3 separate regions of the Homo sapiens genome follow, and regions 1 and 2 are each linked to region 3. The links are contacts of gene promoters, found by promoter capture Hi-C in human tissues and cell types (Jung and others, 2019). All regions are on one chromosome and are shown on one strand. Each heading gives the region's core, a stretch centred on a gene start or on the middle of the fragment in contact. The rest is flanking DNA. Distances are from core to core; before and after follow the strand shown.

The links. Contacts are between HindIII fragments. The study calls those that stand out against the background at their distance.
Region 1: a contact is called between a fragment that was not itself captured here and the fragment with the promoter of THBS3 in region 3, in 1 of the 25 tissues and cell types used here (neural progenitor cells).
Region 2: a contact is called between a fragment that was not itself captured here and the fragment with the promoter of THBS3 in region 3, in 3 of the 25 tissues and cell types used here (dorsolateral prefrontal cortex, mesendoderm cells and spleen).

The regions. Positions count from the first base shown.
Region 1 is chr1:155,336,395-155,341,042 of GRCh38, reverse strand. It overlaps ASH1L (ASH1 like histone lysine methyltransferase), which reads left to right. Exons shown (of 28, transcript NM_018489.3): 26 at 1,675-1,715; 27 at 2,653-2,954; 28 at 3,292-4,648. The coding sequence ends at 3,383. Among named protein-coding and RNA genes, the nearest start is that of MIR555, 7.7 kb to the left of the region's middle. The HindIII fragment of the contact is 5,423 bases long and covers 1-4,648 here.
Region 2 is chr1:155,017,068-155,021,391 of GRCh38, reverse strand. DCST2 (DC-STAMP domain containing 2) reads left to right here. Exons shown (of 15, transcript NM_144622.3): 15 at 2,632-2,865. The coding sequence ends at 2,848. ZBTB7B (zinc finger and BTB domain containing 7B) reads right to left here. Exons shown (of 3, transcript NM_001256455.2): 3 at 2,869-4,324. Among named protein-coding and RNA genes, the nearest start is that of DCST2, 15 kb to the left of the region's middle. RefSeq lists a cis regulatory region at 4,045, a silencer at 3,607-4,076 and an enhancer at 3,973-4,117. The HindIII fragment of the contact is 3,850 bases long and covers 1-3,231 here.
Region 3 is chr1:155,205,626-155,209,768 of GRCh38, reverse strand. It overlaps THBS3 (thrombospondin 3), which reads left to right and starts at 1,872. Exons shown (of 23, transcript NM_007112.5): 1 at 1,872-1,971; 2 at 3,363-3,569. The coding sequence starts at 1,893. MTX1 (metaxin 1) reads right to left here and starts at 1,074. Exons shown (of 8, transcript NM_002455.5): 1 at 437-1,074. The coding sequence starts at 964. RefSeq lists a silencer at 525-724 and an enhancer at 2,088-2,871. The HindIII fragment of the contact is 12,638 bases long and covers 520-4,143 here.

The DNA of each region.
Region 1 (4,648 bases), core at 1,171-3,670, 130 kb before region 3:
CCAAGATCGCGCCATTGCACTCCAGCTTGGGTGACAGAGCGAGACTCCATCTCAAAACAAAACAACAACAACAACAAAACAAAATTTGTGGTGGTGGTGTTTATTGTATAAACATCATGGTGGCTCACGTGTGTAATCTCAGCACCTTGGGAGGCTGAGACAGGAGGATCACTTGAGCCCAGGAGTTTGAGGTTACAGTAAGCTGATTGTGCCACTGCACTCCAGCCTGAGTGACAGAGACCCTGTCTCAAAAAAAAAAAAAAAATTAAGTATAGAAGCATAAGAGGAAAAAAGTTATATATATACTCCACTATCCAGAAAATAACCATTATTAACATTTTCATTGTCAGGCTTTTTCCTGGTATTTTTTCTTTCAAATTGTTGAGAACCGTGTGCCAATTATACGTTTTGTCATTCATCATTCCATAAAGATTTTGATCATCCATTCATCTGTTTGCTCTAATAAAACCCTGGCTGAGCTCCTCATCTTTGAGTCTTCTTTTAGTGGGCCTGTCAAAAGTCATAGCTGTCACCCTGGAATCCTTAGCAATAATCTAACCAGGGCCAGGCGCGGTGGCTCACACCTGTAATCCCAGAACTTTGGGAGGCTGAGGCGGGTGGATCACAAAGTCAGGAGATTGAGACCAGCCTGGTCGACATGGTGAAACCCCATCTCTACTAAAAATACAAAAATTAGCCGGGCATGGTGGCATGCACCTGTAATCCCAGTTACTCAGGAGGCTGAGGCAGAAGAATCGCTTGAACCCAGAGGCAGAGATTGCAGTGAGCCAAGATCGCACCACTGTACTCCAGCCTGGCAACAGGACAAGACTCTCAAAAAATAAAAAGAAAGAAAAATAAGCTAACCAGAAAACAAAGCAATATGTTCCTATTTTCCCTATTTTTTTTTTTTAATTTTCCAGACCGTCTTTTGTATTCTCTGCCCACCACCAGGTCTTTCCTCGCATCTAGACTTATTTGGTTTTGCTTGCTCAATCAATAGCTTACTGACTAGCTTTGAAACCCCAGCCTTAACTACAGTCATGTGCAACATGTTTCAGTCAACATTGGACTGCATATACAACGGTGATCCCGTAAGATTATAATGGAGCTGAAGAATTCCTTCCTATCATCTAGTGATGTCATAGCTGTCGTAACATACTGCAATGTAATACCTTTTCTATGTTTAGATACACAATACTTACCATGGTATTACAACTGCCTACAGTATTCAGTACAGTATTGTGCTGTATATATAGGCTTGTAGCCTAGGAGCAATAGGCTATACTAAATAGCCTAGGTGTATAGTAGGCTATACTATCTAGGTTTGCGTAAGGATGCTTTATGATGTTTACATAACAATCAAATCACGTGATGACATATTTCTCAGAACATATCCCCGTATGACCCCAAGCGACATATGACTGTATTTAAAAGGTGAAATGGGATAGAGAAAATTGTGCACTTATCCCTCCCATTGTCATCCTGGGAGCACAAAATGCTGATAATCATTGTGGCCTGCATATTCATAGAAGTACTAAATTTCTCATCTTAAAACAAAGTCACCCAACTTGTCTACTGCCCTACTGTGTTCCTTATCCTGACTGGCCCCAGAGAAGAGCTAGCTCTCCCAGCTTCTACAATATGCTTACCTCTTCCTTTTCTTCTCTGCAGCCTCATTACGTCCCAGACAACTACAAGAGGAATGGAGGACGGTAAGTCCCATGGGGGGATATGAGGATCCTAAGGGATTGACTAAGAGCTTGAATGGATCAAGAAAACAAACAACTACCCACTCAGCTCCACTTCTAGGACTGGGTATTCTCTGCAGAGTAGCCCAGTGTAGTGCCAGCACTATGGAAGAACTAAATTTCAGTAGATGTGGTCCCATTATGGAGCCTTAATTGGAGCAACAGAGAGATGTGCAGGGAGTAGAGACAGAGATTTGGAACAGAACTCCAGACTCAGAAAAGTTTCTTTTAGATGTCTGTAAGCTTTCCCCATTACCTCAAGGTATATCAGCTCTTGGTACCTCTATCAAGGAACAGATGTAGCCAGTACAGTTTTCACTGAGCTATGAACTATGGGTTCATAGTTTTTATTTTTGCTTATTTTGTACGTGAGGATTATTCCTGAAGAAAGATGACAGAAGGCTTTTTCTTCAGTCTCCTCATCTGTTGAATGGGGGCATAACAACTGCTTTACCTACACCAATAGCTTACCATAAGGGAGAAAATATTAGACTATTGATATGAAAAAGGGAAGCACGAAAATTTAAAACTCCATTTAAATATTTATTATTGTAGTTGGATTATTGGCATCACAAGGTTGTGCCGTGCTTCTCTAGTCATGAAGCAGTCATTTAGAACCAGCTAAGCAATTTTATTAGCCCTTGTATATTTTATGGATTCCTATACCATTTGTGAATATTCCTAAGAGAAATAATAAAAGTTGAATTTTACAAATAAATTTCTGGTAAAGGTAGTGTTTTATTCAAATAATATAAAGTGAAAACGAGAGTCAAGTTTCTTACCTCAAGCTAAGGCTCTAACTGCTGGACTCCAGGATCTCAAGCCATCTTGAGGCCTCCTACCCTTCATCCCCTTTTCCTCCTCAAGTGTCTTACACTAAATTCAGATATCCTTCTGGCAGATCATCCTGGAAGTCTGAGCGCTCAAAGCCACCCCTAAAAGACTTGGGCCAGGAGGATGATGCTCTACCCTTGATTGAAGAGGTTCTAGCCAGTCAAGAGCAAGCAGCCAATGAGATACCCAGCCTGGAGGAGCCAGAACGGGAAGGGGCCACTGCTAACGTCAGTGAGGGTGAAAAAAAAACAGAGGAAAGTAGTCAAGAACCCCAGTCAACCTGTACCCCTGAGGAACGACGGCATAACCAACGGGAACGACTCAACCAGATCTTGCTCAATCTCCTTGAAAAAATCCCTGGAAAAAATGGTAAGAAGAATCAGGTTCATATCTAGGGTTTAAGATAAATGCGAAATGAGAGGGAATGGAAAAAAATTGTAATTACTGGTTCAGCATCCAAAGTATTCTAAGAAAATGGTATAGTTCTTTTATAGGCTTGCTTTTAGTTGTATCTTGGTAGTGAAACTGGAAGGTGAGATGATCTCCTCTAAAGAACCACCTTTTTCACGTAGGGTTGGAGGATGGGCTAAATTGCTTATAGGTCAGAAAAGGAATCATTGAGTTCGTGTGCTCTCCTTAGAGCTCAAATCTGGAATAAGGAGTAGGAGATTGGTATTTTGATGAGCCTCCTTGGTTCTGTTTTCAGCCATTGATGTGACCTACTTGCTGGAGGAAGGATCAGGCAGGAAACTGCGAAGGCGTACTTTGTTTATCCCAGAAAACAGCTTTCGAAAGTGACCCTCAAAGAATGAGAACCTCAAGCATCTGGGATCCAGTGGAGCTAATCAGTCCTGCCTCCTGCTCTCTGGGTATAGACAGGGGTGGGAAGGGTCCATCTGGGCAAGGGGAATGGGGCCATGTTGTTGACATTAGGTACTTAATAAGCCTTGGAGCTAGTGGAGAGGGAGAGGAAAGGGTTCTGTCCAAGACAGTTCAGGTTAATTAATTTTCTTCTCCATTGCTTCACCTTAAGGGTTAATAATGTAGAGAGGAGGGAGGACCACATTGATGACCAGAACCTACTGGTACTTTATAGCATTTGCCCCACCCCACAGCTTAGGTTTTTCTGTCATCCTCAGATCCCACAGGCATTGCGAAGAAGCTGCTTCCTATACCCAGGTATAACTCAAAATCCAAAGGGATAGGGCCAGGATCCCTATTCCTACCCCATCTATTCTCTGTTGGCTCCAAGAGCTACCCCAGAGACCTTAAACAGAAACAGTAGCTGAGGCTTCTTCCTAGATACCTGACTAGGGAAGTTTGTCTCTCCTTTCTTGCCCAACCAGGTCAAAGTAAAATGTGAGTTGACAGCTCAAAGCACTTGTAACTGCTGCCCCCTCCCTACCTCTACTCCCCAAAATGGAATCATGGGATAGGGAAGGCCCCCATGGGGTCAGAAGGGCACGGTAGTTCTTGCAATTATTTTTGTTTTACCCTTCATAACCTGTCAAACATATTTTTTTCTAATGAGAAAGCCAGGCCCCCGCCAGCACACATGCTGTTTTTAATGCGCTGTAGTTCTTGTGTGTCTGCTGTGCTGTGCAAATGGAGATTCAGTTCAAAATAAAATCATTTAAAAACCTACATAAAAAGAACTCTAAACCCACCCCTGCAACAAAAGTCACTACATAAACTGTTCAGCAGTATTCACCTATCAGAGTATTTGTTGTGAGTATAGATTATCAATTGAAAACACTACTCTTGTTTTCTTAATTGTACAGTTTTCAATGTCCCTTTCTTAAAGAGACAGTATATTTCTCTTCACCCCTAGCCCATCTTCCCTCACCCTCCTGAATGACATCAGGAGGTATATCCAGGGTGTCTCCTTCCTTCCTACTCTCTTGACCAGAAGTTAACAGACTATACTGTCTCTTTAAAAATAAAATTTAAAAAGCTTTGTTGTCTTTTCAGACATACATATGCATATATGTTTTAGATGTTCTTATAAGAGAAAAGATGGTTTTTAAATGTGCCAAGTTGTGTGTGTGTGTGTATATATATGT
Region 2 (4,324 bases), core at 57-2,556, 190 kb after region 3:
GCCGAGGTGGGCCGATCACTTGAGTCCAGGAGTTCGAGACCAGCCTGGGCAACATGGCAAAACTCCATCTCTACTAAAAATACAAAAACTTGCCAGGGCATGGTGGCTCACGCCTGTAATCCCAGCACTTTGGGAGGCTGAGGCGGGAGGACCACTTAAGGTCAGGAGTTCGAGACCAGCCTGGCTAACATAGTGAAACCCCATCTCTACTAAAAATACAAAAATTAGCCAGGAGTGGTGGCACGCACCTGTTAGTCCCAGCTACTCAGGAGGCTAAGGCAGGAGAATTGATTGAACCTGGGAGGTGGAGGTTGCAGGGAGCTAAGATTGTGCCACCGCATTTTAGCCTGGGTGACAGAGGGAGGATTGGTCTCAATAAATAAATAGGTAATAATACAAAAATTAGCTGGGCATGGTGGCGTGCATCTTTAGTCCCAGCTTTCAGGAGGCTAAGGTGGGAGGGATCACTTGAGCCAGGGAGGCTGAGACTGCGGTGAGCCAAGATTGCACCACTGCACTCCAGCCTGGGCAATAGTACAAGACCCAGTCTCAAAAAATTAGAAGATTAAAAAAAAAAAAATCAAGTAGGATCATGTGAAGACAGGTGACAGGCAGTTAAGACATCACTGGAGTAGCTTGTGGGAATATTTTTCATGGCATCGGGAAGACCAAAACTGGATCTGTCATGATGGGTTGAGGGGTGTCAGGTAAAGAAGACTCAGAAAGGCTGGGTGTGGTGGCTCACGCCTGTAATCCTAGCACTTTGGGAGGCTGAGGCGGGCAGATCACTTGAGGTCAGGAGTTTGAAACCAGCCTGGCCAACATGGTAAAACCTTGTCTCTACTAAAAATACAAAAAATTAGGCATGGTGGCAGGCGCCTGTAATCCCAGCTACTTGGGAGGCTGAGGCAGAAGAATCACTTGAACGCGGGAGGCGGAAGTTGCAGTGAGCCGAGATCGTGCCACTGCACTCCAGCCTGGGCGACAGAGCAAGACTCTGTCTCAAAATAAATAAATAATAAAAGGACTCAGAAATATGGTATGTGGCTCCTGCATCACTGTTGCCAGGAGTTTGATAATGCTTTTAATCTAATGAGTGCTGTAGTTTGAAAAAAATGTAAGCTTGATGGTGAAGAGAAAGAGAGAGTTAGCTTCACAGAGCAAGAAAGTAGCTTGAAGGGGATTCAGCACTAAAAGGGTTTTCTAGATCTAAGAACAGGAAGATTTGAGCATTTAGGCAGTGTAAAAGCACGTTGGGGAGGGAGGTTTGGGCTCCAGGGCCAGGTGGACCAGGTGGCCTGCCTGAGAAAGGAGCAGGCTGGCAGAGGCAGAGGGGGAGAGTATAGGTTCCCCTGAGCAGCTGAGCCCACTCCAGCCTGGTGGCCTCGCTTCTCTTTGGGGAGTAGGAGGCAAGAGCACCTGCTGAGAGAGCAGAGCAGGCAGCTGGGAGTGGAATAAAGGTTTCAAGGAGTGGGTGGTAGAGGTTGAAAGACCTGCCGTGGCAAGTGTGCAAAGAAGCCGACTAGGGAGGTTAAGGGATTTCCAGGTAGCGTCAAAGGCCCAGATGATGCTGGAAGCTGTAACTTGTAATGATTGCTCCAGTGCGCTCAGTTATGTGATTTTCTCTGGCAAATGTGGTAGCCATGAATAGGATTCACAGGTGGAGGGCTTTTTCTGGGCAGGTCAGGAGGACAAGATGGAGTGAGAATTGAGGTGTCTTTGGTAAGAGTGTCTGAGATGACTGGGGAAGAGGAGGGGCTAAGGCCCCTGGGGGCAGCCCAGGGTCTCTGTCTTGATGACGTGTTAGAGCAGGGGCAGTGGCCAGGAGGGAGAGCTGGCTGAACAGGAGGGACTCAGAGAGGGGGCCATGGCCAGGGAAGAACTCTGGAATGAATCCAGTGAAAGGCCAAGGCTGAGGAAGACGTCTGAGTGGGAACAGAGATGACGGTCAATAGAACCAAGGAGGTTAGGGATTGAGAGGCCAGAGAATTGGGTGGGTCCTCTAGCGACGAGGTTGCAGGACCATACAAACAGCAGGAGTCCAGAGCCGGCATCTTAAACAGATGTGGCAGGTGTCTGGCAGGCCTGAGGAGACAGCCACAGCACTGGTGGTACAGCTATCATGGCAGCCAGGGGCTTTGCAAAAAAACACTACGGGCCAGCTGGGTTTGAGAAGGTTAAGCTGCCTCCTCTTGGGAGGACTGCAAAGAAAACTGTCCAGTGGGCACATTCCAGTGTGAATGGGGCGGTAGAGGTCATGATGAGTCAAGAGGTTGAAGGGGAAGCAAAGCTTTCTTTTCAGAGGTTCTAGAGGGCCCAGTGAAAGGATAAGCTGGGTCAGCAGAGGGGACAGCTTGAGCCTTGAGCAGGTGTGACTACTGAGGTCACTAGTGATTCTGCCCTTCCTAGCCATGTGGCCTCAGGCAAGTCACTGCCCACCCCCCAGCATCAGCCTAAAATCAGAAAATATCTACAGCCATGGGCTGGTACGCCTCGTGGGCCTGAGAGAGCAGGAGTTGCTCAGAAAGAACAGGAGCTGGATCTGAACAGATGGGGCAGGGCAGGGGGCAGGGATGCACCTGTGAAGACAGAAGGTGGGTGATCCGGCCACCCCCTTCCTCTCCTCACTAGTGACCTGGATGAGGAGAAGGGGCCTCAGCAGAGGAAGCACGGGCAGCAGCCCTTACCTGAAGCCCATCAGCCTGTCAGCATTCTCACCAGCCCTGAGCCCCACAGACCACCTGAGACATCCTCCGCCACTAAAGGAGCCCCCACTCCAGCTTCAGAACCCTCAGTCCCTCTCTCACCTCCCTCTCTTCCTGATCCTTCCCACCCACCCCCCAAATAAACCAAAAGTGGACACAAGTGTGAATCTTAAATTATTATTATTTCTTCCTGTCGCTTACACCCGAGGTGGGGGAGTTGGGGTGGGGGGAAGGGAATAGGAGGGGGGGAGTGCCTCTCCCCCTAAGGCACTGACTGGGAAAGCCGAAAGTAGGGAGAAGGGAGGCCACATTGTCCCCACTTTCTGGGGCTGGGCCCCAGGTCTCCCCAGCCCTGGGCTCCCCCCATCACCTGAAATGCTAAGATGAGGCCCAGGACAACCCGATCTCCCCGCCACCCCAATATATTACATCATCACTTTTTAAATAGATAACAGGGACTGGTCCCGCTACCCCCTCCCTGTGACCCCTCCCCACTGTTAGGGGTACCTGGGCAGCTGTGCAAATGGGCATGGGGGTGCATGGAAGGGAGGAAGAGCACCGGGCCCCTGAACCTGCCCCTTTTAAGGAGGGGGAGGAGCCGTCAGGCCAGGAAGGGGAAATAGTGCAAGGCAGAGCCCAGGCTGCAAAAGGGGTCCAGCACCCAGCGAGGAAGGGGGGGTGTCCCCCACCCCCAGCAGAATTGGGTAGTTAAAAATCTGAAACTAGATTTCAACAAGACCAACAGAAGAGGCTATGTACAGAATGGGGGTGGATTCAATCCTAAGAGCAGAGTGGGGATTATTCTCCCCTGCCTGACAGGAAGCCCGGCTGGCAAGGATCTGGGAAGGGGATCACTTTCCCACAGGTCCGCAGCCCCTTCCCCTGCGGCCAAGCGAGAAGTTCTGTGCCCACTGCCTTGGCAAGGGGGCGCCGCTCACCAGCTGGGGTGGATGAGGAGCGTGAAGACAGCTCGCTCCAGTGGCCGCGGGGGGCGCTCGCCCACTCAGAGCATGGCCGCCAGATGGCGCCGGCTCGCCCGCTCTCCACAAGGCTCTTCCAACCCCTTACCCTGTCCCACACCCTTCGCTGCGCCAGCCCGGGGGCGGCGTGAGTCAGGGGCGGCAGCGGTGGCGGCGGCTCCGGCTCGCACCTGGGCGGGGAGGAGATGGGGAGGAGGAGAAGAGGGTAGGACGCCGCCCGGCCCGCCCTGCCCTCTGGCCCCGGGGAGGGAGCGGCGGGAACAAGACATTCCCTGCCCAGGGCCGTGGGGAGGGAGGGCTAGGGAGGGGAGTGGAACGGAGCGGCTCCCCTAGCTGGGCGGGGCCCCTCTACTGCCCCCAGGGGCAGGCGAGCCAATCAGGCCACCCCGCCCCCTTCTCCACGACCCCATGACTCAGCGCCGGGAGCAGGGCGGAGGGGGACTGGGATGGCTCCTTCCTTACAGGCCCAGTCCCCCAGTCTTTCAAGCTTCCACCTGGCTTTCCCCCACCTACCCTTCCTTTGCCGGCCCCCTTTGCATAATTCACTGCCAGGAAAAAGGAACAGAAACCAGGAAGGAGGGGTCTCGAAAGGGAGGGGCAGTCCTTCACCCCCTTACACAGCCAAAACCCCCAAGGGGC
Region 3 (4,143 bases), core at 623-3,122:
GTTTGGTCTAACAAACAATAGCCTCAGTAAATGCTGTTAAGTGAGGAGGAAGAGGAGAAGGGGGCTGAGGAGAAGGCAGGAATTCCAAGCTAGAGTAGGTCCCTGAGACAGTCCAGCCTAGTAAACCTCCGAATGGAGAAAAAAAATGCCCAAAGAGAAAGGATCTCCGCAAGGTCACACAGCCAGTGAATGGATGAGCAAGGACTAGAACCCATCACCTGAACTCCCAACCAGGCGTCTTTTCATTGCTGCATTAAGCCTAGAAAACTACAGCATAGGGCACTGAGGCCATATCGGCCACGTACGCTCTTTGACTGCCTCAGTTTCCCCCACTGCGCCCGTGCTGAGTAGCCCTGGCAAGGTTTGGATGCTTGGCTAGTTCGGCCCCCTCCCCAGTCATCAGGGCACAGCAGAGGGCGCCGGCGCCACCCCTCACCAGCACGGCCAGGCTGTCCAGGTCCACTGACGGCAGCCCCCAGCCCCCTGACCAGCAGAACAGCTCCATGGGCGCCGCCATCTTGCCCACCCTCTGTCCCGGAAACACTTCCTTGTGTGCTTCTGCCCTCCCCTGCCTGGGCCCGCCCCCCGCCACCGCCCCTCCGATCGTTGCGGTCAGGGGGCCTGGGGAGATCCCCGGGGAGGCGAGGCTTCTTCTGGCCCGACTGGCAGCTGAACTGCGGGGGACTGGGCCGCGGGCCTCGGGGGAGGGCGGCCGCCGGCCCATCCAGAGGTGGCCCACGTAGCGGGACAGCGCTGTCGGCCCGGCGCGCCTCGGAGAGTCACGGCGCCTCGTCCAAGTGGAGCCCCGAACCCCTGAAGGCGCGGCAGGCTCTGGAGAGCGGGGTCTTGTGCGCCTGGGCCAGGTCTGGGGGCTCTTGCCAAACTGCACGTGGCCTGTACTGCTCCAGGGCCCCTTGGGGCTCGTCCCCGAGCGGGGACTGCGGGGGGGTCCCCCGAGCAGCATGTTTTCCACAGCGCGTTATGTTTGGAGCGGGCCCTGCGCCGCCTGTCGCCATGGAAACAAAACAGGGGCGGTGGCGGCGGCCGGAGCGGAGGCCGGGCTGGGGCTTGGGTGGGGGAGGGGAAGAGAGGCTCGCAGGCTGTCGCTTAGGTGACGGGAACTCAGGCGCCCCTCTGCTTCATCCGGGTCACGGCCCGTCCGCTAGTACCCACAGTGTTCCACAGTCTGGTCCTTGGCTCCTCGCCTGTACCCCTGGTCTTCTGCGCCTGTCCCTGGTGTCCCTTTCCTCTTTTTTGGTTTCTTCACTCTGACCTCACTGACCACTGCTTTAGATTCTCCCTTCAGTTCCCGTCAGACGCTTCCAGACTCCCAAGCTTTCCTACGAATGAGGGAAAATGGAGAAACAGGCACTTGTCAGGGGACCCCCCACCCTAATAAAGAGCACTTGCTCCGCCAGAACAGCAAAATTCATGCCATGTGGGCATCCCTGGGCACTATAGCAAGCTAGTTGCGGCCACTCCCTTGGCATCCTTTCCTGCCAGCTGTGGAATAATGCCCACTGTCTAGCACTGCCCCTGCCAGGGGTTCTTGCCTTCCACAATCGTGGCTTCCAGAAAACAGTGGCATTCGGTAGCGCTGTGTGCCGAGACCCCCAACAATGATGACTGCGGAGAGGGAGGCACCTGGGGGAGGATCATTAGGGAGAGGTAGAAAGCAGGGAGGCCTCCAGGATTCTTTCCCAGTGCCCCTGGTTCCCAGAGCTGATGATGCCTCCAGGGTGATTGGCAGCTCTTTGTTTCAGCCCCCCCTCACCCGCCTGCTGGCCCCCCCTCCAATTCTGTCCCTCCGCCCCCCGGCTCCTGCTCTCTCCGCCTAGCCTTTTCCCCTCCCAGCTGCCTGCCTGCCAGGGGTAGTGAGCCGGCTGAGAGGCATGGAGACGCAGGAACTTCGGGGGGCCCTGGCTCTTCTCCTCCTTTGCTTTTTCACATCTGCCAGTCAGGATCTGCAGGGTAAGCCTGTCTCCATCCTCTTAGACCGCTCTCTGCTTCTTCCCCATTTGCCCTCAGCCCAAGTAGCAGAGAACATGTGGGCAAGGGGAGAGGGGAAGAGTCCAGAAATTGAGCCAGAGGAAAACTTAAGACTGCCTAGAGTTGGTGAAATTATGGCCTGGTGGAGAGGAGTGGGCACCGGAGAGTAGTGGGGGAGCTGGAACAGGACAGGGTCAGGCATGAGGCCAGGGCAGAGGACTCAGGAACTGGATGCTCAGGCTGCCTGGCTGGGGTGGTTCCTGAGCATCTGTAGGCACCCTAGGGTCTGGGAGAGCAGCCTGAAGGTGGGCGTACTGTAGGTCCCTGGGCTTCGTCCCCCTGGGCTCCTGGCTGCCCAAGGACAGGGCGGGGGTGGGGACCAAGAAGCCTGGGCTCTCCCGGAGGTCTGGTGGTGGGATGGGCCGATGGATGTGGGAGAGGTAGCTGGAGCAGATGACACAGGCATAGATTCTTTACTGGCTGGAGGGAAAACCACAGATTGGCCAGGACACAGGAGGCAGAGGAGCTGGGTCCTACATTCCCGTGGGAGATAGCCCAGATGGTGGGAGGGTTAGAGTCCTCAGTGGGCAGCTGTTCTTATCCAGAGCGAGTGTGCTGCGCCCCTAGGATGGGAGGAGGGGAACTAGGGTGTGGAACGAGCCAAACCCAGGAGTGGAAAGAGAAGCTGCCTTCCATTTCTACGTTGTGGACACCAGGTGCCACTCCTGTGGGGGATCAGCACAGCATCTCCTTTGCGCCACCTGGTGGGGGCATCTCAAATTTGTGGGGTGCTGTTTCTGTGTTTCCAAGTGAGTCTCAAACCTGCAGGTTCCTGGAAGGTAGTAATAGGCAATAATGGGGAAAGGAAGGCACAGTGCCTCTGTCCTCTGAGAGCAACAAGGGTTGAGGTTTTTTTTTGTTTTCGTTTTGTCTTTTTGAGATGGAGTTTCACTCTTGTTGCCCAGGCTGGAGTGCAATGGCGCGATCTCGGCTCACTGCAACCTCCACCTCTCAGGTTCAAGCGAGTCTCCTGCCTCAGCCTCCTGAGTAGCTGGGATTACAGGTGCCCGCCACCACGCCCGGCTAGGTGGTTTTTTTTTCTTTTTTGTTGTTGTTTTTGTATTTTTAGTAGACACGGGGTTTCACCGTGTTGGCCAGGCTGGTCTCGAACTCCTGACCTTAGGCGATCCACCTGCCTCAACCTCCCAAGGTGTTGGGATTACAGGTGCGAGCCACCATGCCCAGCCAAGGGTTGAATTTTGAGGTGACTAACGCTGCCTGGTGGTGGGGGTAGGGGGTGATGTGGGCTCGGGGGAGGGCATACCTTAGCATTTGATCCCATTCTCTAACCTTGATAACCCCTGCCTGACCAGTAATTGACCTGCTGACTGTGGGCGAGTCTCGGCAGATGGTAGCTGTGGCAGAGAAGATCCGGACAGCCTTGCTCACTGCTGGGGACATCTACCTCTTATCCACCTTCCGCCTGCCCCCCAAGCAGGGTGGTGTCCTCTTTGGCCTCTATTCTCGCCAAGACAACACTCGATGGCTGGAGGCCTCTGTTGTAGGCAAGATCAACAAAGGTGACTGGTGGGCATCTCCTTTCTTGCAATGGTGACCTCCTTAAGCACTCTCCCTCATCCCTACTTCCCAAGTGCTTCCTCATTCTCCTTGGCCTCCACTAGGGACCAAGGTCCCATCAGGCTGTGCCCAGACATCAGGGGCACCTGGTATGGGGTGCTTATAAGGTGCTTTAGGAGCCCATGTACCAAACAATAGGGTGAGGCTTGAGTCCTGATATTTATAGGGATGGGAGGTTGTACTTGGGGATGCCTGGAAGGAGGGTGAGGCATGTCTCTGTGCCTCAGCGGTGATACAGAAAGGTCTTTCAGATCCCTGGAACAGGTCAGTGGCCACAAAACCAGCTGTCACCCTAGGAGAGGATACAGTCATCTGATACCAATGAAGACTAAGAAAGTATTTGTCTCTAAACCAATTATTTTTTTAAATGGAGTCTTGCTTTGTCACCTAGGCTGGAGTGCAGTGGTACAATCTCAGCTCACTGCAACCTCTGCCTCCTGGGTTCAAGCAATTCTCCTATCTCAGCCTCCTGAGTAGCTGGGACTACAGGTGCCCACCACCATGCCTGGCTAACTT